Regions from separate parts of the Homo sapiens genome. Here regions 2, 3, 4 and 5 are each linked to region 1. Evidence: promoter capture Hi-C in human tissues and cell types (Jung and others, 2019). All regions are on one chromosome and are shown on one strand. Each heading gives the region's core, a stretch centred on a gene start or on the middle of the fragment in contact. The rest is flanking DNA. Distances are from core to core; before and after follow the strand shown. Region 1 holds the start of SMKR1 (small lysine rich protein 1). Region 2 has its middle 24 kb from the start of TSPAN33. Region 3 holds the start of TSPAN33 (tetraspanin 33). Region 4 has its middle 48 kb from the start of MIR183. Region 5 has its middle 11 kb from the start of MIR182.

Evidence for each region. The method cuts DNA at HindIII sites, captures the fragments that hold promoters and counts their contacts. A contact is called where the count stands out against the background at its distance.
Region 2: a contact is called between a fragment that was not itself captured here and the fragment with the promoter of SMKR1 in region 1, in 1 of the 25 tissues and cell types used here (hippocampus).
Region 3: the fragment with the promoter of TSPAN33 here is called in contact with the fragment with the promoter of SMKR1 in region 1 in 3 of the 25 tissues and cell types used here (IMR-90 fibroblasts, adrenal gland and small bowel).
Region 4: a fragment that was not itself captured here is called in contact with the fragment with the promoter of SMKR1 in region 1 in 2 of the 25 tissues and cell types used here (bladder and spleen).
Region 5: a contact is called between a fragment that was not itself captured here and the fragment with the promoter of SMKR1 in region 1, in 2 of the 25 tissues and cell types used here (H1 embryonic stem cells and aorta).

Annotation. Positions count from the first base shown.
Region 1 is chr7:129,499,998-129,505,202 of GRCh38, reverse strand. It overlaps SMKR1 (small lysine rich protein 1), which reads right to left and starts at 2,672. Exons shown (of 2, transcript NM_001195243.2): 1 at 2,376-2,672. The coding sequence starts at 2,378. RefSeq lists silencers at 2,524-2,863, 2,924-2,973. The HindIII fragment of the contact is 29,122 bases long and covers 1-5,205 here.
Region 2 is chr7:129,117,716-129,122,920 of GRCh38, reverse strand. It overlaps the pseudogene CYCSP20. Among named protein-coding and RNA genes, the nearest start is that of TSPAN33, 24 kb to the left of the region's middle. RefSeq lists enhancers at 1-66, 517-686. The HindIII fragment of the contact is 4,977 bases long and covers 1,467-5,205 here.
Region 3 is chr7:129,143,457-129,148,661 of GRCh38, reverse strand. TSPAN33 (tetraspanin 33) reads right to left here and starts at 3,955. Exons shown (of 8, transcript NM_178562.5): 1 at 3,580-3,955. The coding sequence starts at 3,681. RefSeq lists an enhancer at 921-970 and a silencer at 3,833-4,042. The HindIII fragment of the contact is 23,252 bases long and covers 1-5,205 here.
Region 4 is chr7:129,820,157-129,825,361 of GRCh38, reverse strand. No RefSeq gene overlaps it. Among named protein-coding and RNA genes, the nearest start is that of MIR183, 48 kb to the right of the region's middle. RefSeq lists silencers at 1-35, 106-155. The HindIII fragment of the contact is 7,353 bases long and covers 1-5,205 here.
Region 5 is chr7:129,757,365-129,762,569 of GRCh38, reverse strand. No RefSeq gene overlaps it. Among named protein-coding and RNA genes, the nearest start is that of MIR182, 11 kb to the left of the region's middle. The HindIII fragment of the contact is 3,652 bases long and covers 1,194-4,845 here.

The sequences.
Region 1 (5,205 bases), core at 1,423-3,922:
AGATTCTGTCTATAAATTTACCACTGAATTCCCCAGCCTACACCAATATCTGCCACACTGCAAGGATGCATAAATATCTGCTGAGTGAATGAATACATCACAACTGAGATGCAATGCAATAACAGGATTTAGAAAGCAAATGTGGATTTCTGCTTTTCTGAATTTTAAGATGCCTCCTTCATTCATTCAACAAGTATTTAACAAAAATCTACTGTGTCCCAGGCCCTGTATTAGATGGGGAGCAAAGGAGATCTCACGATGCTTACAGTCCAGTGAGGTCTGAGGAAGACACTAGTCACCTAATCACAAATGCATTTACTCACGACCCATGCTGTGAAGAAAGGGCCCTATTGGCCAGGCATGGTGGTTCACACCTGTAATCCCGGCACTCTGGGAGGCCGAGGCAGGTGGATCACTTGCACCCAGTTTGAGACCAGTCTGGGAAAGATGGCAAAATCCGGTCTCTACAAAAATTTAAAAAATTAGCTGGGCTCAGTGGCACACACCTGTAGTCCCCAGTACTCAGGCTGCTGAGGTGGGAGGACCCCTTGAGCCCAGGAATTCAAGGCCAAAGTGAGCTATGTATGATGCCATCGCACTCCAGCCTGGGCAACAAAGCAAAACCCTATCTCTAAAAAAAAAAAAACAAAAACAAAGAAATTAATAAAGAAAGACCCTATAATGCCTATAACACATGGAATTATAATAGCACAAGATGGGCAAGGGCTGACCTCATCTGGGCCATCAAAGGAAGGGCTCCCTAAGCGTGGCCTGTGGGCCGAGAGTAGGGAATTCCAAGACCAACAGCCTATGCAAAGTCTCTGAAGCCGGAGAGAAGGTGCACAAAGAGACGGAAACCCAAAAAAGGCCAACATGGCCAGCCCACAGGCAGCCAAGGGGGCCAGTGAGAGCAGCTAAGGAAGGAAAGGTAGGCAAGGTTCCGCTCTGGCTTGCAGGCTCTGTGCACTAATGTGTTTGACCCTCATTCAAGGAGCATGAATTAACTGGCATTTGCTTCAATGGCTATGTACAGCATTCTGCCTCAGTTCCCTGGGCCCTGAAAGAAATGGCAGTTGGCTGGGCACAGTGGCTCACACCTGTAATCCCAGCAATTTGAGAGGCCAAGGCGGGCGGATCCCTTGAGCCCAGGCGTTTGAGACCAGCCTGGGCAACATGGCGAAACCCTGTCTCTACTAAAAATACAGAGATTAGCCAGGCATGGTGATGCCTGCCTACGGTCCGAGCTACTTGGGAGGCTGAGGCGGGAGGATCACTTGAGCCTCAGAGATGGAGGCTGCAGTCAGCTGTGATCACACCACTGTACTCCAGCCTGTGTGACAAAGTAAGACCCTGTCAAAAAAAAAAAAAAAAAAGGTAATAGCTCTTTACCTTTAATAGCTCATGGAATGACTCTCAAACCAAGAAATTTTTACTTAATCCTTTTACACGAAACAAACTGGAAAGAACACAGAAACTTAATGATTTCTACACTAGAGTCTAATGAGGAATAAGGCTTTCCAAGGAAAAACAGGCAAAGCACCAGAGGTGAGGTGCAAAGGGCTGTGGGCGCTGAAGGAGCGATGGGGAAGCAGGAGGCAGGGTCCTTCTGATCCAAGCCTCAAAGAAAACGGATCAAGACAGGGAAGGCGCAAGGGGCTTCCAGAAGAACGCGGGTTTAGTGTGGGATGCAGGGTTTTTGTTCGTTTTGTTTGTTGTTGTTTAGCAGAGAAGATATGGCAGAGAAAGCTCGAGGTTGAGGCCCCTTTAGCAAGGGCTCTGTGCGCCCAGCTCAAGCGTGCAGTACTTAGTTTAGCAGACAATGATGCCTCCCTGAGGACTTGGGGCAGGGGCTGGAAGGTCACAGCCCTTCTGGAAAGAGCAGCGAGGGTTGGAAGGAGGTCGTAAGTGACTGGATGAGGGCTGAGAACAGGAATGCTGTTGACAGCAAGGTGGTGGTACCAGGCTCACTCTCTGCTTCCTGAGTCTGCAGAGCAGTGGAGAATCCCGCGCGGGCACCCAGGGTGGCTACGGCAGCTAACAGCTCGGACCCGTCACTGTGGGCATGGCCTGGCGCCCTGACGTGCCACACCACGGTGCCACCCTCCCTTTATTTTCCACATCAACCGTCTGGGTGTGGGGGCTGCTCAACAGGACCACGACCTAAAACCTGGAAAGACGGCTGGCCTGACTCCGCGGCTGCTGCGCCCCCAGCAGGCGCGGACCGCCGGGCACCCCTTGTCCCTCCATCTTTTCGCCACGCGTTGAGGTCGACCCCAGGGAGAGGCGGTGACCTCGGCGCCCGCGCCTCTCCGGGACAGCCTGGGGCTCCACGGCGCGCGCCCTGGCCCCGGGTACTTTAGGGAGACGGGGATTACCATGGCGATTCTCAGCCGAGCAGGCAGGCGTGGTGGACTCTCCCGATCCCGAAGCCCTTAGCATCCACCGGGGCCGCTGCCCCCAGCGCCCGTTCCCCTAGCACCCCCGGCCCCTTCTCGGCCCTCCTCAGGGAACCGCCACGGGCCCAGCCTCACTACGCCTCCCCGCCACGCCTCGCTGGGAGGAGCGCGGCCGGCTCGGGAGGCAGCCAGCCGCGGAGCCGCCTGGACGCGAGGCACCTGCTTGCCCCACGCGGCACCTAGGCCGCCGCAGCTGTGGGCGCTGGGCCGGCGTGCGCCTCGGGGGCGGGGCCGCGCGCACAATCACCGGGCGTGGGGCAGGGCCTCGCCGTGGTTACCGTTGCCAGGGCAAAGCGGCAGCGCGCGGAGGGTGAGCGGAGCGGGGTTCCGGGCTTGCGCGCGCGGGATGGGCCGTCACCTAGTACGAGGCCGACCGCGGCCTCCAGCGCCCGGAAACCCAGTTCGGCGCTTTAGCGTCTGGGTTTGGGCTGCCGGAGCGGCGGGCGCGGGGCGAGGGGGCGGGCGCGGGGCGAGGGGGCGGGCGCGGGGCGAGGGGGCGGGCGCGGGCGGCGCTCCCACTGGGGTGGCACTGGGGTGAGAGCGCAGGCTAGGCCCGCTCACTCGGCCAACCTGGGAGAGATCATCGGAGAAGCTCTTTTGGGAAACGAGCATAAGGACTGTGACGGTGAAGGGAGAATATCATGGGAAATGTTTGCAAAAGAGCCGGATAAAGAGAGTAAGGGCCCGAGAGACTAAAGGGGTGGGGAGGGAGTTCATGTGCAGGTAGGATTGGGCGAGAAAGGTACAGTAGGTACAGTTTTGCCTCCAACCTTGCCAGTTCCAGCCTCCCTCCCTGCAGGTGAAGTCTACACTTCGGGTGGTACGACTCATTCTTTTTTATGACTGGTCATTCCTTTTTTTTTTTTTTGAGACCGAGTCTCTCTCTGTCGCCCAGGTTGGAGTGCAGTGGCGCCATCTCGGTTCACTGCAACCTCCGCCTCCCAAGTTTAAACCATTCTCCTGCCTCAGCCTCTTGAGTAGCTGGGATTACAGATGCGTACCACTATGCCCGGCTAATTTTTGTATTTTTAGTAGAGATGGGGTTTCGCCATGTTGGTCACGCTGGTCTCGAACTTCTGACCTCAGGTGATCTGCCCGCCTCAGCCTCCCAAAGTGCTGGGATTACAGACGTGAGCCACTGCCCGGCCTATCATTCCTTTTTATTCAACAGTTATTGAGCATCTGCCACGTGCCTGACACTCTTCCAGGCCCTGGAAATTGAGCTCTGAATGAGGCAAAGTCCTTGTTCTTTTAAGGGGTGATTTGGGGGAGGTGGTCGTGGCTGAAATGGAGGGCCTGGCAGACATTAAAAGTGATAGGGACAGTATGGCATATTGCATTAAATTGATGTGACCACTGGGTGCTCTTTTAGATTGGTGACTGGGGAAGGCCTCTCTGAGGAGGTGACGTTAAAACAGATCTGGATGACAAGGAGCAGTCAATTATGCCAAAATTAGGGACAGGGGGAGGAGGCTAGACCAAGAAGCAGGAGTAGGGTCCTGGAAGGCTCTGCAAGGATGTGGTGTTTTGTTTGCTTTCTCTTGAAAGACAAACTGGCTTCCAAAGAGGACTGTTTATGTTCTAGGTTCTCTTACATATGCTTTCCCTAATCCTTCATTAACAGAGCAAACCCAACTTCCAGCTACTTTTAATATGTCTGTGAGTTTTTCTTATGAGTCCATATGCCCTGGATATGGCAAATTCTCCTGCCCTCCACCTGCACTTTCTTCTCTTCTTGCGCCTGTCTTCATCCCTGGATGGGGCTGGCCCACCCCAGCCGCTTACACTTCTCTGGGTTATCTCAGCTCTCCCAAGGTTACCCCTATGGGATCACTCCCAAATCTGTTCCAGCCCTGCTTTTCCTGAGCTCCAGATCAGAGATCCAGAGCCCTGCTACAAGGTTGTTTTGTTTTCTTTCTTTTCTTTTCTTTTCTTTTTCTTTTCTTTTCTTTTTTTTTTTTTTTTGAGATGGAGTCTTGCTCTGTTGCCCAGGCTGGAGTGCAATGGCACGATCACTGCTCACTGCAACCTCTGCCCCTTGGGTTCAAGCAATTCTCCTGCCTCAGCCTCCCAAGTAGCTGGGATTACAAAGCATGCGCTATCACGCCCGGCTAATTTTTGTATTTTTAGTAGAGACAGGGGCCAGGCTGGTCTTGAACTCCTGACCTCAGGTGATCCGCCTGCCTCGGCCTCCCACTGGGATTACAGGCGTGAGCCACTGCTCTGGCCTCCTGCTACAAGTTTTAAAACTCAGCTGTCTTGAAAGTAGATCAGTGGTCGAGGTGTGCCATGGGTGGGGGAGGATTGACTCTGCGGTGGGCTAAGAGGAAAATTCCTGAGTGATGGAAATACTCTCTATCCTGATTGTGGCAGTAGCTACACAGGTGCAGGGCTGGCTGCATTATTTGCATGGCTTAGTGCAAAATGAAAACAGGAAGAAGCAGGGAAAAGTGCCACTAAAGGTACTAAATTAGAAAGCTTTCCTTTTCTCTGTGGTCTCTATCAACCTGTTATGCTGTTTTTGTTTACTGTTTAATGTGTTTCCTTGGGTACGGGAACACTCCCCTTCCTAGCTATCGTCCCATAGCAGATGGGTGGCCCTCGAGGGATTGCACCCTCTGTGCCAGGATGTGCTTGGTGTCATGACTGTGGTGGACAGGATGCTCGCGTGTCTCACTCTGAATGTACGGGGGTATTGCCATGCCCTGCCCTAGATGGGGTTGGGGGTTGGGTAGGGTGAAGGTGGGGA
Region 2 (5,205 bases), core at 2,706-5,205, 380 kb after region 1:
GCTCTTCCTGCAGTGCTTAACTCCAGAAAAAAACCCTCCACCAGTTCCTTACTAAGGTGGTAAACAACCCTAAGAAATCTGGCTCTCTAAGCTTGGGACAGCCAAGAAATGAGTCAGCCTTCTGGAGAAACCCCCCTTGCCACAGCCTGTGCTTCCCCATTTCTGCCAGGGCCCCAGCCCCAGCCCCAGCCCCCATGTCAGTAAAGCCTATGCATTTCTTTCAAGAGCATGACAAAACCTCATATCTGAAAAGCACTGAAGTGCTGTACCTCTTTCAAAGTACTTGTGCATTCATTATCTCATTAGGATACCAGATTTGCTATTTTTTTCTTCAGATTCTTTTTTTTTTTTTTTTAACTCAAATCCAGCAGAGTTTTTTCATGTGGTTCTCAATGAGACTTGAGAAGAGAAAATCAGAATTCAATCCAAAAGCACAGCTTTTCTAGAGACATAAATATAATCCTCCTCTCTCATGCCAAAAATAACAAGGGGGCAGAGGTTAGATTCTAGAGGAAAGAACATTGAGTGTGAACTGAAACCTTTCTAGTTACAGATCTACCACTAAGTAGCTGTGTGACCTGGACAAGCCCCTTAATCTCTCTGCACTTCAGTTTCTTCCTTTGTAAAATGGCAGCATTGAGGCTTCCTGGGAACCCTGGCCTTGATATTTTCTAAGCATCTTTGAAGCTCTGAGGTTTTATGGCTCGGTGAATTGTAGAATCTGAGGAGACTGATTTATAAGCAAGTTGGCACGTTTTTTAAGCCCAGTCATTCCTTTGGTGTGTGCAAGGGAGAGCCCCTGCTCAGAGTGTCAGGAGCCATAGCACATTGGGATGTAGACTGAGCATGGCCCACTTCCCAGAGACCCCAAGGCCTGCCTTAGGCCCACCTCTGATGGTGGTGGTTGGTTGGTGGTGGTTAGTTGGTTAAATGAAGGGTGAGATCCTGACCACTCACTAAATGCTGAACTCTTGATAGATTAGGAGGAAGCTCTGCTATCTGTGGGATGAGGCACAGCAGATGATGTGGTTTGGCTGTGTTCCCACCCAAATCTCATCTTGAATTCCCACATGTTGTGGGAGGGACTGGGTGGGAGATAATTGAATCATGAGGGCAGGTCTTTCCCATGCTGTTCTCATGATAGTGAATAAGTCTCATGAGATCTGATGGTTTTAAAAATAGGAGTTTCCCTGCACAAGCCCTCTCTGTGCCTGCTGCCATCCATGTAAGATGTGACTTGCTCCTCCTTGCCTTCCGCCATGATTGTGAGGCTTCCCAAGCCATGTGGAACTGTAAGTCCATTAAAGCTCTTTCTTTTGTAAATTAGCCAGTCTCGGGTATGTCTTTATCAGCAGTGTGAAAACAGACTAATACAGCAGATGTCAGATTGGTTCTTGGAATGGAAGGTAAGCGAACTCTAGTGTTTACTGAAGACAGGGCCTATGTAGGGATTGGCAGGGTAGGGTGGTAGGCCCTATTTAGCAGTACAGAGACTGACCCAAGGCACTTTTCTTGCTGAGTTCAACCTTCTTTTGCAACCCTTTCTTCTGGCAAGTGCTTTCTGCCCAGTGGGGAGGTGAAAGGGTCCCTCACCTTCATGAACCCCTTCTGTGTGAATATACCCTCCAATAAATCCTGGCTCTTCTTTCCATTTCCAATGACTACTTTGAGAAATTAGGATGTCAGTGGTTCATCTTGTCTCATGCAAGCCTGAATTATGTATTCTTTAAGAACAGTGACTATGATCCATCAGACTGTCTTCCACCTGTCATTCAGCATGGCTTTGGCTCTGAACTCTCCACCAACCTTTTTCCTTCCCTGCAACACACACATTCAAAACTAAAATAACCCATTACCACCACCACTAACAACCCCCCCCCCCAACCATCCCATTATAGATCATATCCTCCCAGGAAGTTTTTCTTTGTTCCTAAATTAATTCATACCAATGTGGTGATGGCCACTCAGGCTTGTTACTTGTCTACCTGCCCTACCACGACTCTAAATATGTATTTCCATTTTAACAGGAGATGTTGGATCCAATTTGTCAAAAACTATCTCATTAAAGGAACAAACTTGTTTCAGCATCAGACTTATGATGTGATATTTTTGTCTTAATCCCTCAAAGTACTGAGAGAAGGTTGGGTACTAGTGAAGTCAGAGCTATTAGGGGGCACCCTGGCTAATCAGGCCTTCCTCTGGGCCAGCAGTGCCATCCTATTTATACCTACAGTTTTAGCATTCAGAACAAAATCTTACTACACAAAGAAATTTATAGATTTAATGCAATTCCTATCAAAATACCAACGACATTCTTCATAGAAATAGAAAAAAAATCTTAAAATGTATATGGAACCACAAAAGACCCTAAATAGTCAAAGCAATCTTGAGCAAAAAGAAAGCTGGAGGCATCACACTACCAGACTTTAAAATATCCTACAAAGCTGTAGTAAGCAAAACAGCATGGCGCTGGCATAAAAACAAACACATAGAACACTGGAACAATAGAGAACCCAGAAATTAATCCATGTATCTATAACCAACTGTTTTTTGACAAAGGTGCCAAGAACCCTTATTGATAGTCTCTTCAATAAATGGTTGAGGCAAAACTGGATATTCATATGCAAAAGCATGAAACTAGATTCCTGACTTTCATCCTATACAAAAATCAACTCAAAGTGGATCAAAGACCTAAATGTAAGACCCAACCCTATAAAACTACTAGAAGAAAACATGGGGAAATGCTTCAGGACATGGGTCTGGGAAAAGATTTTATAAGACTTCAAAAGCATAGGCAACAAAAGTAACAATAAACAAATGGGATTATATCAAACTAAAAAGCTTCTACACAGCAAAGGAAATAATCAATAGAGTGAAAAGACAATCAACAGAATGAGAGAAAATATTTGTAAACTATTCATCCAACAAGGGATTATTATCTAGAACATACAAGGAATTCAAACACTTCAATAGCAAAAAAGCAAATAATTCAATTTAAAAAATGGGCAAATGGGCCAGGCATGGTGGCTCACACCTGTAATCCCAGCACTTTGGGAGGCCAAGGCAGGCAGATCATTTGAGGTCAGGAGGGTGGATCACTTGAGGTCAGGAGTTGGAGACCAGCCTGGCCAACATGGTGAAACCCCCTCTCTACTAAAAATATAAAAAATTATCCGGGTGTGGTGGTGGCACATGGGTGTAATCTCAGCTACTCGGGAGGCTGAGGCAGGAGAATGGCTTCAACCTGGGAGGCAGAGGTTGTAGTGAGCTGTGATCGTGCCACTGTACTCCAGCCTGGGTGACAGAGCAAGCCTGTCTCAAAAAAAATAAAAATAAATAAAATAAATAAATAAAAGGGCAAATGATCTGAACAGATATTTCTCAAAAGAAGACATACAAATGGATGGTCAACAAATATATAAAATAATGCTCAATATTACTAATCATCAGGGAAACACAAATCAAAACCATCAAGAAGTATCATCTCACTCTGGTTAGGATGCTATTATCAGAAACACAAAAAAATAACAAATGCTGGTGAGGATGTGGAAAAATGGAACTCTTATTCACTGTTGGTGGGAATGTAAACTAGTACAGCCACTATGGAGAAGAGTTGGAGGTTCCTCAAAAAACTACAAATAGAACTACCATATGATACAGCAATCCCACTACTGGGCATTTATTCAAAGGGAAAGAAATCAGTATATCAAAGAGACATCTGTGCCCCTATGTTTATTGCATCACTATTCACAATAGCCAAAATATGGACTCAACCTAGGTGTTCAATAACAGATGAATGGATAAAGAGAATGTGGTATACGTACACAATAGAACACTATTCGGCTATTAAAAAAAGAATGAAATCCAGTTATTTGAAGTAATGCGGATAGAATTGGAGCACATTATGTTAAGTGAATTAAGCCAGGAACAGAAAGTTAAATACTGCATGTTCTCACTCCTTTGTGGAAGCTAAGAAAAGTTGACTTCATAAAAGTAAAAAGTAAAACAGAGGATACTAGAGGCTTGAAGGGCAGAGGGAAGTGGGAGTTAGAGAGATGTTTATTAAATGATACAAAATTACAGCTAGATAGAAGGAATAAGTTCTAGAGTTCTATACCAGTGGTCCCCAACATTTTTGGCACCAGGGACTGGTTTCATGGAAGACAATTTTTCCACAGACCAGGGAGTGGGGGATGGTTTCAGGATGATTCAAGCGCATTACATTTATTATGCACTTTATTGCTATTATTATTACATCGTAATATTAATATGTAATGAAATAATCGTACAACTCACCATAATGTGGAATCAGTGGGAGCCCTAAGTTTGTTTTCCTGCAACTAGACAGTCCCATCTGGGGGTGATGGGAGACAGTGACAGATCATCAGGCATTAGATTCTCATAAGGAGCCTGGCATGTGCAGTTCACAATAGGGTTCGCACTCCTGTGAGAATCTAATGCTGCCATTGATCTGACAGGAGGCGGAGGTCAGGCCGTAATGTGAGCAATGGGGAGCAGCTGTAAATACAGATAAAGCTTCACTCAGTAGCCTGTTGCTTACCTCCTGCTGTGTGGCCCGGTTCCTAACAGGCCATAGACCGTTGTTATGCGACCATGGCTCAGGGGCTGGGGACCCCTGTTCTATACCACTGTAGGATGACTGGATGTAACAATATATAGCTTCAAATAGCTAAAACGGGCCAGGCACAGTGGCCCATGCCTGTAATCCCAGGACTTTGGGAGGCCGAGGCAGGCGGATCACTTGAGGTCAGGAGTTCGAGACCAGCCTGGCCAACATGACGAAACCCCATCTCTACTGAAAATACAAAAGTTAGCTGGGTGGGGTGGCATGCACCTGTAATCCCAGCTACTAGGGAGGCTGAGGCAGGAGGATTGCTTGAACCCAGGAGGCAGATATTGCAGTCAGGTGAGAGTGTGCCTTGGCAACAGAGCAAGACTCCGTCTAAAAAAAAAGTAGCTAAAAAATGGATATAGAATGTTCTTAACACAAAGAAATGAAAAATGAGAGAGCAGGACATCTGGTTTCTGAGTAGGAACCTTCACAGTGCCAGTGACAAAAGAGAGAATTAAATATGGGTGATGTTGAGAAAAGCACGAATATTTGTGTTCAGAAGTGTGCCCAGTGCCACACCACGGAAAAGGGAGGCAAGCACAAGACTGAGCCTAACCTCCATGGTCTCTTTG
Region 3 (5,205 bases), core at 2,706-5,205, 360 kb after region 1:
AAGTGGAGGGTTGCCAGGCCGCCAGACCCACCACAGAGGAGAACACAGTTGGGTACCTCATCACCAAGAGTGCTCAAGGACCCCAGGTTGAGCTGCATCTTGACAGGCCAGTGTCCATGAGGAAGGGAGGATGGGCATCAAGCCTCTACCCTGTGGGGTTTGCTCTCTCACTCACCATCCAATAAACATTCAGTAAGCACCCAATTTATGCCAAACACAGCTGGGCACTGGGGATCCAGAAGTGAATAGGGCCGTGCCCACCCTCGAGAGCCCGAAGTCTAGAGGGGGAGACGGAGAAGTAAACACAATTGCAGCACAGGTAAGGGATGTGACAATAGAAGAATACAGAAGGTGCCATGGGAGCCCTGAGGCATGGCTGCTAGGGAAGCCTGGGCTGAGACACAGGGGCTGGAGGTCTGAGCTTCTGGGCTCTGCCTGACTCAAAAGCCAGCCAACTGCTGCCCTGAGTGGGAAAAGGACCAGCGAGGAAGGAGGTGGGCGGCACTGAATATTCCTGACAACACATGGCCAAGCTGAGAAAGCAGGCACCACCCCAATATCTGCACGGAGCTGTCCTGCAGAGGGAGGTGAGGAGAGGCAGCTGCTCTGTAGCCACCCTAACTGATTTAAATGCAACATCTAGGATCTTAGAGCAGCTACTCCAGGCCATGGAATCCCCACAGTCAGTAACCCAGCAACATGATTCTGGGAAGAAAATCAGAACTCCCAGGTCAAAGGGGAAGTGAGATTTGAAACATGAACAGTAGGAACTGGTCCCAGTCCCCCAAAATTCATTAGTTTTCTGAGTCAGACTCCAAATGCCCCAAGAGTCAGGGCTTCTAGAGCAACAGCAGACGTAGCCACCATCACCACCAGCACCACTATTCAGAGCCCAGAGGATGCCGGACACCTTCCTAGTGGGTTCCAGGCACAGACACAATAACCACTGCCATGCGGCAGCTCCAGAAGCCGGCCAGAGCATGCACTCTGCCTGCAAAGGGTGTGGGCTGACCATCATCTCATCCATAGGTGCTTCCTGGGCAGAAGAGCAGAATTTGATTAGGATGGTGGAAGTCTACAAAAAAGAAAGCATGGGAACCAGTCCCTGAAGAGGAGCTAGGAAGAAAGATGGCCCCCTGATCTGGGGAGGCAGCATTTTCTCTCCAGCTGCTCTTGTATGAATATACCTGTGCAGCACTGGGTTTGGGGGAGAAGGGACATTCAATAACACCTGAAAAGTACTGTCCCCTAGGAAGGGCAATCAGGACACAGGGAGATTCATCCTTAGATCCAGCTCTAGGTCTTGAAGAAAGAAAACAGTCCCCAAAATGATTCATTCATCCTTAAATAGTTCACTGAGGCAGAAATTGTTTCTCCTTTAGAGGAGAAAGATTAAGGTCAGAGAGACAGATACATTGGCTTAGGGTCACACAGTAAGTTGGTGCCAAAAAGATGCTGAGCCTCTTGTCTTTCAGTGTGCTATTTCTAGAGCCTCTGATTTTTTATGAGTCTACTGTAGGGCCAAGAAGGGGCTCTATTCTAATTTGGGGTGGTGCTAGCTTGGCCACCCACGTCTTCTGACCTTGAATGAAGCATTTTTACCAAGGTAAATGGGTCTGTGGAGCCAAACTCTCTCCTGGCTGAGATCTCTCAAAGTCGTTTGTCCGATAAAAGGGGGGTAGGGTGGAGGTAGGGGGTAGGGAAGCTCGAGAAAAAAAAAATGACCAGGAACACAAGTGTAACAGATGCACCCAGCTGTTGTCACTGGCGAGCACAGACAAGGGTGAGGTACCAATGGCTCCAAGGGAGACAGTCTCGGCAGATAAAGGAAGTCAGAGTGACGACCTAAAGTCCCTGAAATGCTAGTGCTGGCTCCGAGGATGTCACGTCACTGGCCTGGCACACTCAGTGAGCACAGAGACTTCACTGATACTTGCCCCTAAGTGGGGAGTCTCTTAGTACATCCCCCAGCACTGGTAGAGTGGTAAGGGATTTTCTTGTGTTTTTCCCTAACCTCCAGCTGAAGCAGAACCTAGACTATGGGAACTTGGGTTGACTGGTTAACTACTAATACTGCCCATACCCCAGCTATAGCAGCAGCCATCTGTGCTGAGGACTTCCCCCAGCGGCACTGTGGTTCAGTAGAAAGGTCACCAGACCAAGCCTGCTAACCAGCTGTTGGACCTTGGACAAAACATTTAACATCTCTGTGCTTTAGTTTTCTACATTTTATAGACATAAACACAGATGCTGGACAAGATGTCTTCTAAAATTTTTTTCCAGTTTTACAACTGAGCATTTGATAGGAGCACAAGTTTCATTTTCCCCAGGAGTAGGATGGCTGAGTGCGCTGTCATCACCACCCTATGGGATTTCTCTCATTTGTCCCAACAGGCCAGCACTTATGGGCTTTGTGTCTGCACCTCACCCCACGGGCCCTGTGAAACCTTTCCAGCAAATGGCTTAGATGTCTGTTCTGCTCCCTCCCCTAGGAAACATATTTTAGACTCAATTCTTCCCTCCTGCAAGTCTGAACTTTAGGTCTCCAGCTGAAGTGGGCAAGGATGGTGGGCTCCAGAAGCAGCAGCTCTGGTGTGGTAGGAGCCAGAAGAGGAGGTGAATGGGGGAAGGATGTCCCTATGTTCTCACACCCCAGGACCTCCAGGACTCTCTAGCCAGGAAACAGGGTCGAGCTGGCATTGCATGATCTGGTTCAGCTCAATTCTCAGCTTCAGCAGTCTTTCTGCCACCCCTGATCACACTGGGTTGGATTTGTGGGGGAGGGAGTCAAGGCCTGCAGACATGAACATACATGCTTAGGTCGGTCAAGTCAACAATGAACGGCAGAGTGGGATGGGAATCCAGGTGTCCGGAGTCCCAGCCCAATACTTTTTCCACCCCAAGCAGAAGATTCTGAAAGGACCCCTGGCCCTCCGGCCCAACACGGGGTCCTGTTTAAAGACACTGGTGATTGCCAGGCTCCAGGGGTGAAGTCTGGTCCTGAGAAGGGTGGCAGGGAGGGGACAAAGTTTGGGGCAGTGCTGGGATGGGAAAGACATCTGCACCTGGAGGCCATTCTTCCTAGACTTTGGGGGGGTGGAGGTGGGGGTAGATGAGGCCTGCAAAAGGAAGAGATGATGCCAGTAACCCATCCTCTCTGAGGTGGTGGAGAGAGAGGTTTGGGTTTTTCCTTCCTCTTCTTTCTTTGCCAGCCGGGCCTCCAGGCCCCCAGGCCTGAAAGTCAGCCGCCACCCCCGACCCCCATCATGAATGTGTCAGTGGGTCCGCCTTGGGCCAACAGGCTCCCTCAAACCCACATTTCTAGCCTAACACAGACCCTCCTCCGACGCCCCGAGAATACCCATCAGTCTTTACTGATTCCCTGGCATACCCTCCTCCCTACAACGCCCCCTGCAGACGCGGCGTCCCCGGGGTGTCCCTCCCCAGGATAAATTCCCCCAAAGTGCCGTCAGCCCAGAAAACTCGGCAGTGCGGCTCCCGCGCGTGGGGCACCCCGGGCCACCCTTCCACCCCGCGGGGGGACCCCGCCGCCCAGGTGCCCTCGACCCCGAGACTCACCCAGAAGAGCATGTTGAAGAAGAAGAGCAGGTATTTCACCAGCGGGCTGACGAAGGAGAACTCCTCCCCGGAGGCGGCCGGCGCCCGGGGTCTCCGCGCCATGGCCCCGCCGCCGCCACCGCCCCCGGGGGCCTATTTCCCAGCGGCTGCCGGCCGGCCTGTGTGCCCCGCGCCCGGGGGCATGAGCCGAGCCGCGCCGCGCAGGAGCCCGGCCGGCGGGGGAGCCTGCGCTGCGGCGGGAGGCGCCCGAGCCGGGGGGCCGGGAGCGGCGCGGGCCGGGGAACCGCGCCTGGAGCTGCTGGAGCCGCGGTGGGCAGCGCGAGCGGACGAGACTCACCCGCGGCCGCAGGACCAGCCCGGCCAGCCAGGCGCCCAGGAAACCCGGCCCGCCCCCGGCCGCTCATTGGCGCGACGGCTGGAGCCCGACTTCCCATTGGCTCGTGGCTGATGTCACTAAGTATCCAGCCATCCCTCTCCACCGAGAGTCGGGGGAGACACCTGTTCTGTGAGGGATAACTTGTTAAAGGGTCAGCGGTTCTGCCTCTCCCCTACCCCTAAGGGAAAGCATCCAGGCTGCAGCTGCTCAAAGGAACAAGAGTGAGGAGAAGGAATGCACAGTGCATCCCACACCCACGTCCTCCGCCCAGCTGCTGTGCACATATGCAAACACACATACATTAAAATCAACAAGTACGCACACCGTGTGTTGAGCAATGCGCCGAAAGCTCTGGGAACGCGGGAGAACAGAAACAATCCCTGGGGGATGACAATAAAATCAGGGAGACAAAACTAACCTACACATAACAATTAGACCAAGGGTAGATGCAATCTTGTTTAGTAACTATACATTTTAAATGCTTATTTCAGAAGCTCTACAACCCAACAGTGGAAATTTGGAAACATCACCGCCAATCCCGCCATCCTAATTCATTGCTGTCTCAATTCCCGCCCCCGCAGCCCCTCTTCCCTTGGTCTACTTGCAGACACCGTTTTTAACATGCTGATCCGGCACACACAGGTTGAGTGCAGCGTAGCTGGCGAATATATTATGCTGGCTACCCTAACTAATACAAGTTGAACCTCGGGGAGGGAATCTGATTCCACCATAATTAGCTGCGTGAAAGCTGCAAGCTACTTAATCTCTCGGAGCCTCAGTTTGTTTAATGTTAAATGGGAGAGTCCTGACCTAGATGGCGATTTGAGGATTAAATGAGATAATGCATGTAGCTCACTTAGCACATGGCTGGCACATGGAAGGCTCATCAAAGGCATTACAGTATTTCGTTTTAGCAGAATTAAGAATCCAGTGTGGAAATATGATAACCGCACAAATAATTATAATACGTTTGGTAGAAGGTTAGTGAAGATAGCGTGGCAAGTGAAATTAGGGGAGGATGGGATTTAGAATAGTAGAGACGGAGGGGAAACATAATCCAGGTGGATTAAAAAAAAAGGGGGTGAACCAAAGCCTGGAGGTGCAAAAGCACGCCATGTGTTTCGTGCAAAATAAGCAGACTGCTGTGGCTGGAGCACAGGGTATGCTTGGAATAGCAGTGGGACATAATGCTGACCGATGCCGTTACATGTGGAATTGTGTTAAAACTGCGGAAGTAATTGAATATCAGA
Region 4 (5,205 bases), core at 1,739-4,238, 320 kb before region 1:
GGGCACGTGGCCGGGGGGCAGGGTGGGAAGAGGGTGGGATGGTGGGGTGCTGGCTTGGGGCCAGGTCAGGCATCAGAGGCACAAAGTAAAGGATACAGAGAGAGGGGAAGGGAGAAAGGGAGAGACAGAGACCTGAAGCGGGAGGGCCGAGCGGCAGGGCGGGAGGCGAGGATAGTGGGTGGGGCTCGGGCTGCAGGGCTGGAGCCTGGGGGATCTGGAGCACAGGGGCAGGAGGAAGGGACCGGAAGGATACCTGGGCCTGCAGGGCGTTCCCTGCGGAGATTGATTGAGTGAAGACTGCGACGTCCACCTTCAGGGCTCTCTCTAGCTCCCTCTTCCTGTCTCCTATCACTTGCTCTGGGGGAAGCCAGCGGGTTGTTTTGAGCTGCCCTCTCCTTTGGAGAGCCCCACCTGGCTGGGAACCGAAGCCCTGAACCAACAGCCAGCAAGAGCTGAGGCTTGGCGACCACCAGCGCGTGAGCCGGCTGTGGATGCCCGGACCCGGTGCAGCTGAGAATGGCTGCGGCAGGCCTCATCAGCGATCCTGAGCCGCAGCAGCCTGAGAGCAGCTTCCCGGGCTCCTGACCCTTGGAAACTGGGAAATAGATGGGAATGCGGGTTTGCTGCTTTAAGGTTCTAAGTTTTGGGTGTAATCCATTATGCAGCAATAGATACCTAATAGTCTGTGGTTTTTTGGAACCACTGTATTTTCCCCATACTGCTTATCTCTTAACTAGTTTTATGTGAGATAGAAAAATAGGCCGGGCACAGTGGCTCACGCCTGTAATCCCAACACTTTAGGAGGCCGAGGCAGGAGGATCACTTGAGCCCAGGAGTTCCAGACCAGCTTGAGCAACATAGGGAGACCCGTCTCTACAAAAAATGTAAAAATCAGCCCAGCGTGATGGCACACGTCTGTGGTCCCAACCACAAGAGAGGCTAAGGTGTGAGAGCCACTTGAGCCCAGGAGGTTAAGGCTGCAGTGAGCCAAGATTGTGACATTACACTCCAGTCTGGGCTGCAGAACGTGACCCTGTCTCAAAAAATAATAATAATAATTTGTAGCATATTTAAGGCACTGCTATAAATTTTTTAATTTTCTACTTATTACAACTAAACCTAATCTTAAATGATTCTATAATAAAGACTGGAAATAAGAATAGAATGGGAAATTCGTTTCCTATTCTTTCTGTCTGTCATTCTAGCTTTGACTTCCATTTGGAAGGCCACCTCATGGTTCAATACAGTGGCTGGAGCTCCAGAGAAAAGGTGCTCATCTCTCAGCCGACAGCTCCTTTTTTTTTTTTTTTTTTTTTTTTTTTTTTTTGAGACAGGGTCTCATCTGTCATCCAAGCTGGAGTGCAGTGGTGCGATCTTGGCTCACTGCAACCTCCACCTCCCAGGTTCAAGCGATTCTCCAGCCTCAGCCTCCAGAGTAGCTGGGATTACAGGCGCCCACCACCACACTCAGCTAATTTTTGTATGTTTAGTAGAGACAGGGTTTCACCATGTTGGCCAGGCTGATCTTGAACTCCTGATCTCAAGTGATCCACCCACCTCGGCCTCCAAAAGTGCTGGGATTACAGGCGTGAGCCACCACACACGGCCTGACAGTTCCTTTTAAGGAGTCTTGGAAGCCTCCTCCACGCTTCCACTTAAACCTCATGGGCAAAACTGAGCCACAGGCCCACACCCTGCTTAGGGGAAGTTGGGAAATATACTTCTTCACCTGGGCACATTGCCCCCTTGAATAAAATTGGGGTTCTAGTGTAACGTGGACCTTGCATTTTTGGAACTTATTAGAACAAGTCAGCTCTTTAAAAAATTGTGAGACAATTGGGGAAATTTAAACAATAAGTAGTATGTTATGATATGAATAAATTATGATTTTTTTTTTTTTAGAAAGGATCTCACTCCATTGCCCAGGCTGGAGTGCAGTGGCACAACCATAGCTCACTGCAGCCTCAATCTCCGTGGCTCAAGTGATCCTCCCACCTCAGCCTCCCAAGTAACTGGGACCACAGGCGCACGCCACCATGCCCAGGTAATTATTTGGGGTTTTTTTAGATGTGAGGTCTCACCCTGTTGCCCAGACTGGTCTCAAACTCCTGAGCTCAAGCCATCCTCCTGCCTTGGCCTCCCAAAGTGTTAGGATTACAGGCGTGAGCCGCCACACCTGGTGATTATTTTTCTATAGGTGAGAAAGGTATTGTGTTTTGTGATAAAGGTATTGTGTTTTATATGATATTGTGCATATGTATATATTTACTAGTGTATATGTTCAAAAATCACCTGTTGGAAATACTTACTGAATTTATGGATGAAATTATATGTCCAGATTTGTTTCAGAATAATCCAATAATGGGGTGGGAATGTAATAGAAGAAACAAGGTTAGCCATGTGTTAAAGCTGAATGACGGCTATGTGGCATTCTTTATACCATTCTCTGTTTTAAATAGGTTATACATTTTTCATAATAAAAATTTCTTTAGTCTGTTTTTTTGTTTGTTGGTTTTTGAGATGAAGTCTCACTCTGTTGCCCAGGCTGGAGTGCAATGGCACAATCTTGGCTCACTGCAACCTCTGCCTCCTGGGTTCAAGCGATTCTTCTGCCTCAGCCTCCCGAGTAGCTGGGAGTACAGGTGCGTACCACCCTACCCAGCTATTTTTTTTTTTTTTTTTTTGTATTTTTAGTAGAGAATGGTTTAGTAGAGAAGGGTTTCACCATGTTGGCCAGGCTGGTCTCAAACTCCTGACCTCAAGTGATCCACCCACCTCAGCTTCCCAAAGTGCTGAGATTATAGGCATGAGCCATTGCACCCGGCCTTTAGTCTGTTTTTAAGTAAAAGTCTTAAGGTCTATATTTGAAATTTTGCAATTCTAAAAAATCAGGATTCTATTAATATTACTAAGGAATAGGAGAGGTTGGCTTTACCAACATATAGAACAGGCTCTGTCACAGTGACTAGCAGTGGACCTCAGTCCTTAACTGGCAGAGATGGGCCAAATGCCCGGTGATCTGATGTCCTCCCTCCAGGCCTTGCCACCAGCTAGACCCCTCAATTGCCTGGGACTTACTGGATCCTGTGTGTGGCCAGGTTTGCATTCTAGGCCTTGGAGAAAGGGGTTTAGCTGGAGGCATGTAAGACCCTGGCCCAATCCCCAGCAGTTTATAACTTATTTGAGCAACCATCACAAAGCTACAACACCCACACTCCAAGTAGTCACTCCAAGATAGCGGCTAAGTACGTGGCAAAGTACATGTGTGTTCTTTCAGTGAGAAGGGTGAGGCCAAGGTGTGACACCTGGAGGAGGAGGCAGGGATGATAAGGAGAGGAGACCCAACTGAGAGAAGAGCATGGGATCAGGAGGCTTTGCTGAGCCTCGCTGCCAACTGCATGGCCAGAAGGCCGAGGGAAACAGGTTCTGTGCCTGTTTCTGGCCCTAGCAAAGGAATGTGTTGTTCAGGATAAAAAGGCGAGCCACAAAGTCTCCCTGTTAACAGTGACAGTCATAACAACAGCAACAGCAGCTAGTGTTTTAATGTTTCAGGCACCCAGCTAAGGGTTTAACTTACAGCAAGGCCATGAGGCTGGTATGATAACCCTGCAGTGGACACCTGTTATTTCTGCCTACCCAGCATCTGTTCCCCCTTCTTCTGGTATCAGTACTGCAATGCTATTTGAGGGAACAACCCTGCCTCCCTCACCTCATCCAAGTGGTTCTTGGAAGCTAACTCCAAAACTCCCCCTCCCCGCAGTGGTGGGGCCCTCTGACCCAGCCAGCCAGTCAGGTCCCCTACTCCGTTCAGAGAGTAGCACATGACTGGGGCTTCTGTTGAAACCATTGGGAAAGTGAAGAGCCTTTTCCCTCTGGGACTGCAAAGCTCAAAGCTGGTGAGACTAGAACCAGGTTGCAGAGAGGCTGCCTGAGAACCTCCCTGGACTTCTCCTTCAGGGGAAAACGTCAAGCTCCTTCCTGTCATTTGCAATCAATAATCCTGACTAATACACATCTTTAGTATTCAGGTGAGGAACAGAAAGGTGCAGTTATGAGCCCAAGTTTACCATGTCCTCTTAGAGTCTGCAGTAGCCAAAATGGGAAAAGCGGTATCTTGACACTTAGGAAGAGAGACTTCCAAAAGTGCAGATAAAAGAATAAATCTAAACCAAAGCTTTAAATAGAAGAAGGTGGCCTTCGATTAAAGATGGCCAATGGCCAGGTGTGGTGGCTCACGCCTGTAATCCCAGCACTTTGGAAGGCCAGGAGAGGTGGATCGCTTGAGGCCAGGAGTTTGAGACCAGCCTGGCCAACATGGCAAAACCCTGTTTCTAGTAATAATACAAAAATTAGCCAGGCATGGTGGCAGGTGCCTGTAATCCCAGCTACTCAGGAGGCTGAGGCAGGAGAATTGCTTGAACCCAGGAGGTGAGGTTGCAGTGAGTTCAGATCGCGCCTCTCCCCTCCAGCCTGCTGACAGAGTAAAACTGTGTCTCCAAAAAAAAAAAAAAAAAAAAAAAGATGACCAATTGACCATGCGGGTTAATCTCACTCCTCTGACATCAAAACCCCACTAAAATGACAGTAGAGGGTTACAAAAGTGGGCAAGGCACATAACCCACAGACATAAAAAGTAAGGAAGATTAGACATTGGCAAACCAACAATAGCACAACAACAAAAAGATTCTTGTTGTTGGAGCCCAGGAGTTCTGGGTCACCATGAGCTATGATTGCGCCACTGCACTCCAGCCTGGGGGACAGTGAGACCTTGTCTGTAAAACAAACAAACAAACAACCCATTGAAAACTAGAAAACAGGTGTACTTGTAGTAGCTAACTTAATAGATTAAAAACAAAACACTGCAAACTGCCACCCCAAAGATCAGTGGTTCCAGGTTCCTCTGATCAGTGAGGGGTAAACGAAGGACTGTAACAGGAGGTCAAGTTGAAAGCTTAAGACAGCAGGTGCGGTGGCTCATGACTGTCATCCTAGCATTTTAGGAAGCTGAGGTGGGCAGATCACTTGAGGCCAGGAGTTGGAGACCAGCCTGGGCAACATGGCGAAACCCCATCTCTACAAAAAAAATTAGCCAGGTGTGGTGGCATACAGCCTGTAGTTGCAGCTACTTGGGAGCCTGAGGTGGGAGAATCACCTGAGCCCGGGGAGGTTGAGGCTGCAGTGAGCTGTGATGACGCCACTGCATAC
Region 5 (5,205 bases), core at 1,770-4,269, 260 kb before region 1:
TCAGGCTGGGCTAGAAGACAGGGCCCGCACTGGCTGGGTCCTACGGGAGGAGTGGGCGTCGGCATGGACGGGAGGCCCCTGGGCCAGGGACCCTCAGCTCGGCCGTGCCCCACAGCCCCGCACGAATGCCCTGCTCCCAAGGACCTCAGCAGGGCCCACGAAGTCTTCATCGTCCTTGTCGTTTGACCGCTGTTTTGGACAGATGAGTACCCAGAGGCCCAGGTTAGAGAATCCTATTATGTGATGAGTTACCCCGAACTTCGGCTAACTTAAAAAACATTACTGTATTTAAAAAAAAAAAAAAAAAAAAAAGGTCTATCTTCATGGTTGTTTTCTGCAACCATTTTGGTAAATTCCAGAATTACACATTAATTTATTTGGTGTAAACGTTGCTCTTGCTTTCTATAAAAATAGCTCTGGTAAAGGAAATACCTAACTTCTAAATTAAAAATTTCAGATTTTGAGAATCTGGATGGTAACCCGGGCAGGAGGAGCTGAGTAGGAAAGGGAGCAGAGTGATTTGGGGGATGAGCCAGCCATGTGACCCGGGGCTTCAACTTTCATAGCCCAAATGAGGAGTGGTGGCTAACTTCCCTCGCAGATTAAAGTCCACTATGAGAGGGCCAAGCTTTGGCTTCGTTTCCTGATCACCCAGGGGTTTTTGAGTTCTCCTAGTCTCATTGGGCCCTGAGGTTTTTAAAGACCAACACAGTGCAACTGTTAGTGACCAAGAATGTGTTCAGCATCAACATTTCACTATCCGTCACCCCTGCCAGGATATCACATAGCCAGATTTTTCTTAAGAATACAATCAATGTTATTTTTACATAAAATTATTTAACATTGGATTTTTGCAGAAATATATATATATATATATATATATATATATTTTTTTTTTTTTTTGTAGAGACTGGTGTTGCTCTGTCACCCAGGCTGGTCTCGAACTCCTGGCCCTAAAGCTATCCTCCTGTCCTGGTCTCCCAAAGTCGTGGGATAACAGGTGTGAGCCACCATGCTGGCCAGACTTTTTTGAGTAATGAAAATGTGTGGGAATAGGTGTTTTGGGTTCTCTGAATTTTCTGATTAAACTACCACTGGAAAACTAGGTTCACTCATCCTATGAGATGTATTGAGGCCCTGCTGCATGTAAGGGCACGCGTGTGTGTGGGGGGGGTGGGGAGCGGTAAAAAGGTCCAGCCACGGGAGGCTATTCCAGGTCTATCAAGCTCAGGACACAGTGGAGGTTACTTTATAATCCTGATGTGCAGTTTTGTCCTCTGAATGGTTGGCATAGAGAGCAGAGCTGTAACAGACAGACACATCAGGCCTTATTTCAGCCCTCCAGTTTTTAGTTCTTGGGGAAGATGCCAAGTCTCAGTTTCCACCCCCATAAAATGGAGTCTCTTCTTACCGGATTGTGAAGAGGATTAGAAATAAGGGTGTAAGGTGTTTTACACAGTAAAATGCTAGTAGCCATTTAGTAATTGATAGCTGTAACTTATTATTTTTTGGATAGAGTCTTGCCCTGTCACCCAGGCTGGAGTGCAGTGGCATGATCATGGCAGTCTCAACCTCTTGGGCCCCAGCGAACCTCCCACCTCAGCCTCCTGAGTAGCTGGGACTATAGGCATGGACCACCACACCAGGCTGATTTTTATATTTTTTGTAGAGATGGGGTTTCACCATGTTGCCCAGGCTGATCTCAAACTTCTGGGTTCAAGCAATACACCTGCCTTGGCCTCCTAAAGTGTATTAAGCTTCTTAAAGGGTAGATAAATTCAGAAGTTTCAGTTGAGACCCAGTAAACTTAAATTTCACTAAAAATTTTATTTGCCAAGTACATAAAATTTGGGGAGAACCTCCCAAAAATTAATTAAGCTACTTAAAAAATAACTGAATGCTTTTTTTTTTTTTTTTGAGATGGGAGTCTCACTCTGTCACCCAGGCAGGAGTGCAGTGGCACGATCTCAGCTCACTGCAAGCTCCACCTCCCAGGTTCACGCCATTCTCCTGCCTCAGCCTCCTGAGTAGCTGGGACTACAGGCTCCCGCCACCACGCCCGGCTAATTTTTTGTGTTTTTAGCAGAGATGGGGTTTCACCGTGTTAGCCGGGATGGTCTCGATCTCCTGACCTCGTGATCCGCCCGCCTTGGCCTCCCAAAGTGCTGGGATTACAGGCGTGAGCCACTGCGCCGGGCCCCAACTGAATGCTCTTATACCCTCCACTTTCATCCATTCCAGGCCACAAGAAAAGTGTATCATCGGGGCCTGGCGCAGTGGCTCACACCTGTAATCCCAGCACTTAAGAGAGGCTGAGGCAGGTGGATCACTTGAGGTCAGTTCAAGACCAGCTTGGCCAACAGGGTGAAAGCCCATCTCTACTAAAAATACAAAAAAATTAGCTGGGTGTGGTGGGCACCTGTAATCCCAGCTACTAGGGAGGCTGAGGCAGGAGAATTGCTTGAACTCGGGAGGTGGAGGTTGCAGTGAGCCGAGATCACACCACTGCACTCCAGCCTGGGTGACAGAGTGATGAGGCTCAAGTCATGTTTTTCTAGGCACAGATTCTGGGACCAGCCAGCCTGCCCGCCCAGGTTTGTACCTTAGCTCTGCCTCTTACCAGCAGTGTGAACTTGGCTCAGTTGTTTAACTTAACCTCTCTGTATTTCAGTTTGCTCATCTATAAAACGGGGATGATAGTATTTTGTAAAGGTTAAATAAATTAATATATAGGTAAATCTTTTAATACAGTACAAGGCATATTGTAAGGGCTAAGTGTTCACTGTTATCATTGCTACCATACACTCTGTGTAGACAAACCATAGTTCTCGTAAGCAAGCTAGCAAAGCTTGAGCCCTGGAGAGGGCTCAGGACCCAGGCCTATTCCTGCCTCCTAAGGAGGCTCTAGGTTCTCAGGGCACCTTGGTTCCCCTCTGCAGATGACTGTTATCCCTTCTTCCTCCTTTCCTCACTATATATTCCAGGCCTCCAATACTCAACAAATGTTTGGTAGCAGCCCAGTGGTTTTCAGGATGGAGAAACTCATATTCAGAGGGGCTTGGGGACTAAGAGGAAACCCACGCTCTTCAGTGATTTCAGTCGGAGCCCAGTCCCGGAGCCCTGCCTCCCCTCTCTATTGTACCCCTTCCTCCATGCTGCCGCCAGCATCCTGGGTGACCTCCAAGAGCTGCCTCCTGGAGTAAACAGCAGAGGCCGGGTGGGAGTGCAGGGATGGGGCATCTGAAGCCCCAGTTGTGATGACCAAGGTGCCACCAGCCTGCTGAGGTGGAGTGAGAGGGAAAACACGGACTCTACTCCCTCACCCCACGTAGCTTCTGCTCCAAATAATTAAGCTCCAGTTTCCTCCCTGATGAGTTTTGGTGCTGACACCAAAAGGAAACACCAGGAGCCCGGTACGACTCTGCCATGCCCAGAGCTCAAGCTTCGGAGGCATTACTGAGAGGGGGAGAGAGCGTTCCTTGGGCGTGAGTGAGGCCCAGGGCAAGGAACCCCTCCTCTGCTCTGCCCTTCTGGTTCTCCTCAGCTAATTTGTTCAAGTTTGGAGAATGCCAGTAGTCACCTGTATCACCAGTGGGCCTTCTCAGATGCAAGACTTAAAGCCAGTAACTTTTAGACCAGTCTCCTGGTTTCTGTGAGCACCAGATCCTTGTGTGGAGCCTAGATGATAAACTACGTAACAGAGGACCTTTGAGGGCTCAAATGCGGTAAACAGCTCATTCTGCACTAGTGCTCTGTCCAGATGGTGCCTCATCACCTTGGACTGCAGCGGTTGGTTTATGTAAAGGTCTCCTCCTCACTCCTTGTTTCTCACAGGCAACTACCATGCTTCATTCACCTGGCACATGACAAGCATTCACGTAGTTAAGTGCAACTGACCGTCAGGTCAGGTCTGGTCTACAGATGGGTTTTATTTTGCTTGCAGAGTATGTAAATTTTTTATTTGTTGCGATCACATCTCGTACAAAAATCTGGATTCCCCAGATTCTCTGGACAATTTTGAAGTTGGGGCATTAGGGTCCATCTTCCTGCATGGTGACAATCAGCACCTAGGACAGGCTGCCCCGTTTAGATGGATGCTGTCCACTGTGCCTGTCCCCATCACTCCCTCCTCTCACATGGGAATTGCCTCAGCTTCCTTCATTGATTTGACCTCCCTGGTCTCTATAGACAGCGGAGTTAGCAGCTCCTGTTGGTGACTTAGGCAGGAATGGAAGAGGTCTCCATCGGCCCCACCAAAACCAGTTGTCAATACATGCCTGTGGCAAAGGCAGCATCTGAGGCTTGCCAGGCAAACAGCAGCTAGAAGACGCCTCTGGAGAGACCCTTGGTCAGCAGGTATTCTAAACAACCCAGCTATTTCATGGTAGTCAATAGCACGGATGTGTGGTTGATTTGGCTGCACTCAATCCTTTTTCTAGTCCAGTCTCTGGTGAAAAATAGGCGAGGGTATGCCATTTGTGCAAGAAGGGGGAAAGGTAGGCACTTGGCTTCACTGAACCACCATCAGGCATCAAGGAAAAGGCTTCTTGGCCTTCCCATCCAAGCAAGCATTCTAATCATGGTCACCAGGAAAGTGGCCAAGACACCCAACAATATAAAGAAAGGGTGGTGGGGGTGACAGCAGGTCATTCCAGGCTGAGGCCAGGGCATGCAGAAGCATGGAGGTGCAGGCTACTGGGGTCTATGAAGGGCCTAAGGATGGGGCAGGAGGAACAGCTGGAGCGATGGCATATGCCATGTTAAGAGAGTAAGCTGTGTGAGAAACCAGGGAGTGAGGATGCAGGGGAACAAGTCATGGCTTGAGGCTTCTGCTTGGAGAAAGAAAGACAATTCACTTTAATAGTAATTCCCAAGATGGAGAGGCACCATCACTCACCCTCATTTTTTATTTTTATTTTTTTTTTGAGATGGAGTCTCGCTCTGTTGCCCAGGTTGGAGTGCAGTGGTGTGATCTCAGCTCACTGCAACTTCCGCCTCCTGGGTTCAAGCGATTCTCCTGCCTCAGCCTCCTGAATAGCTGGGATTACAGGCGCCCGCCACCATGCCCAGCTAATTTTTCTATTTTTAGTAGAGACAAGGTTTCACCATGTTGGCCAGGCTGGTCTGGAACTCCTGACCTCAAGTGATCCACTCACCTTGGCCTCCCAAAGTGCTGGGATTACAGGCGGGAGCCACTGTGCCCGG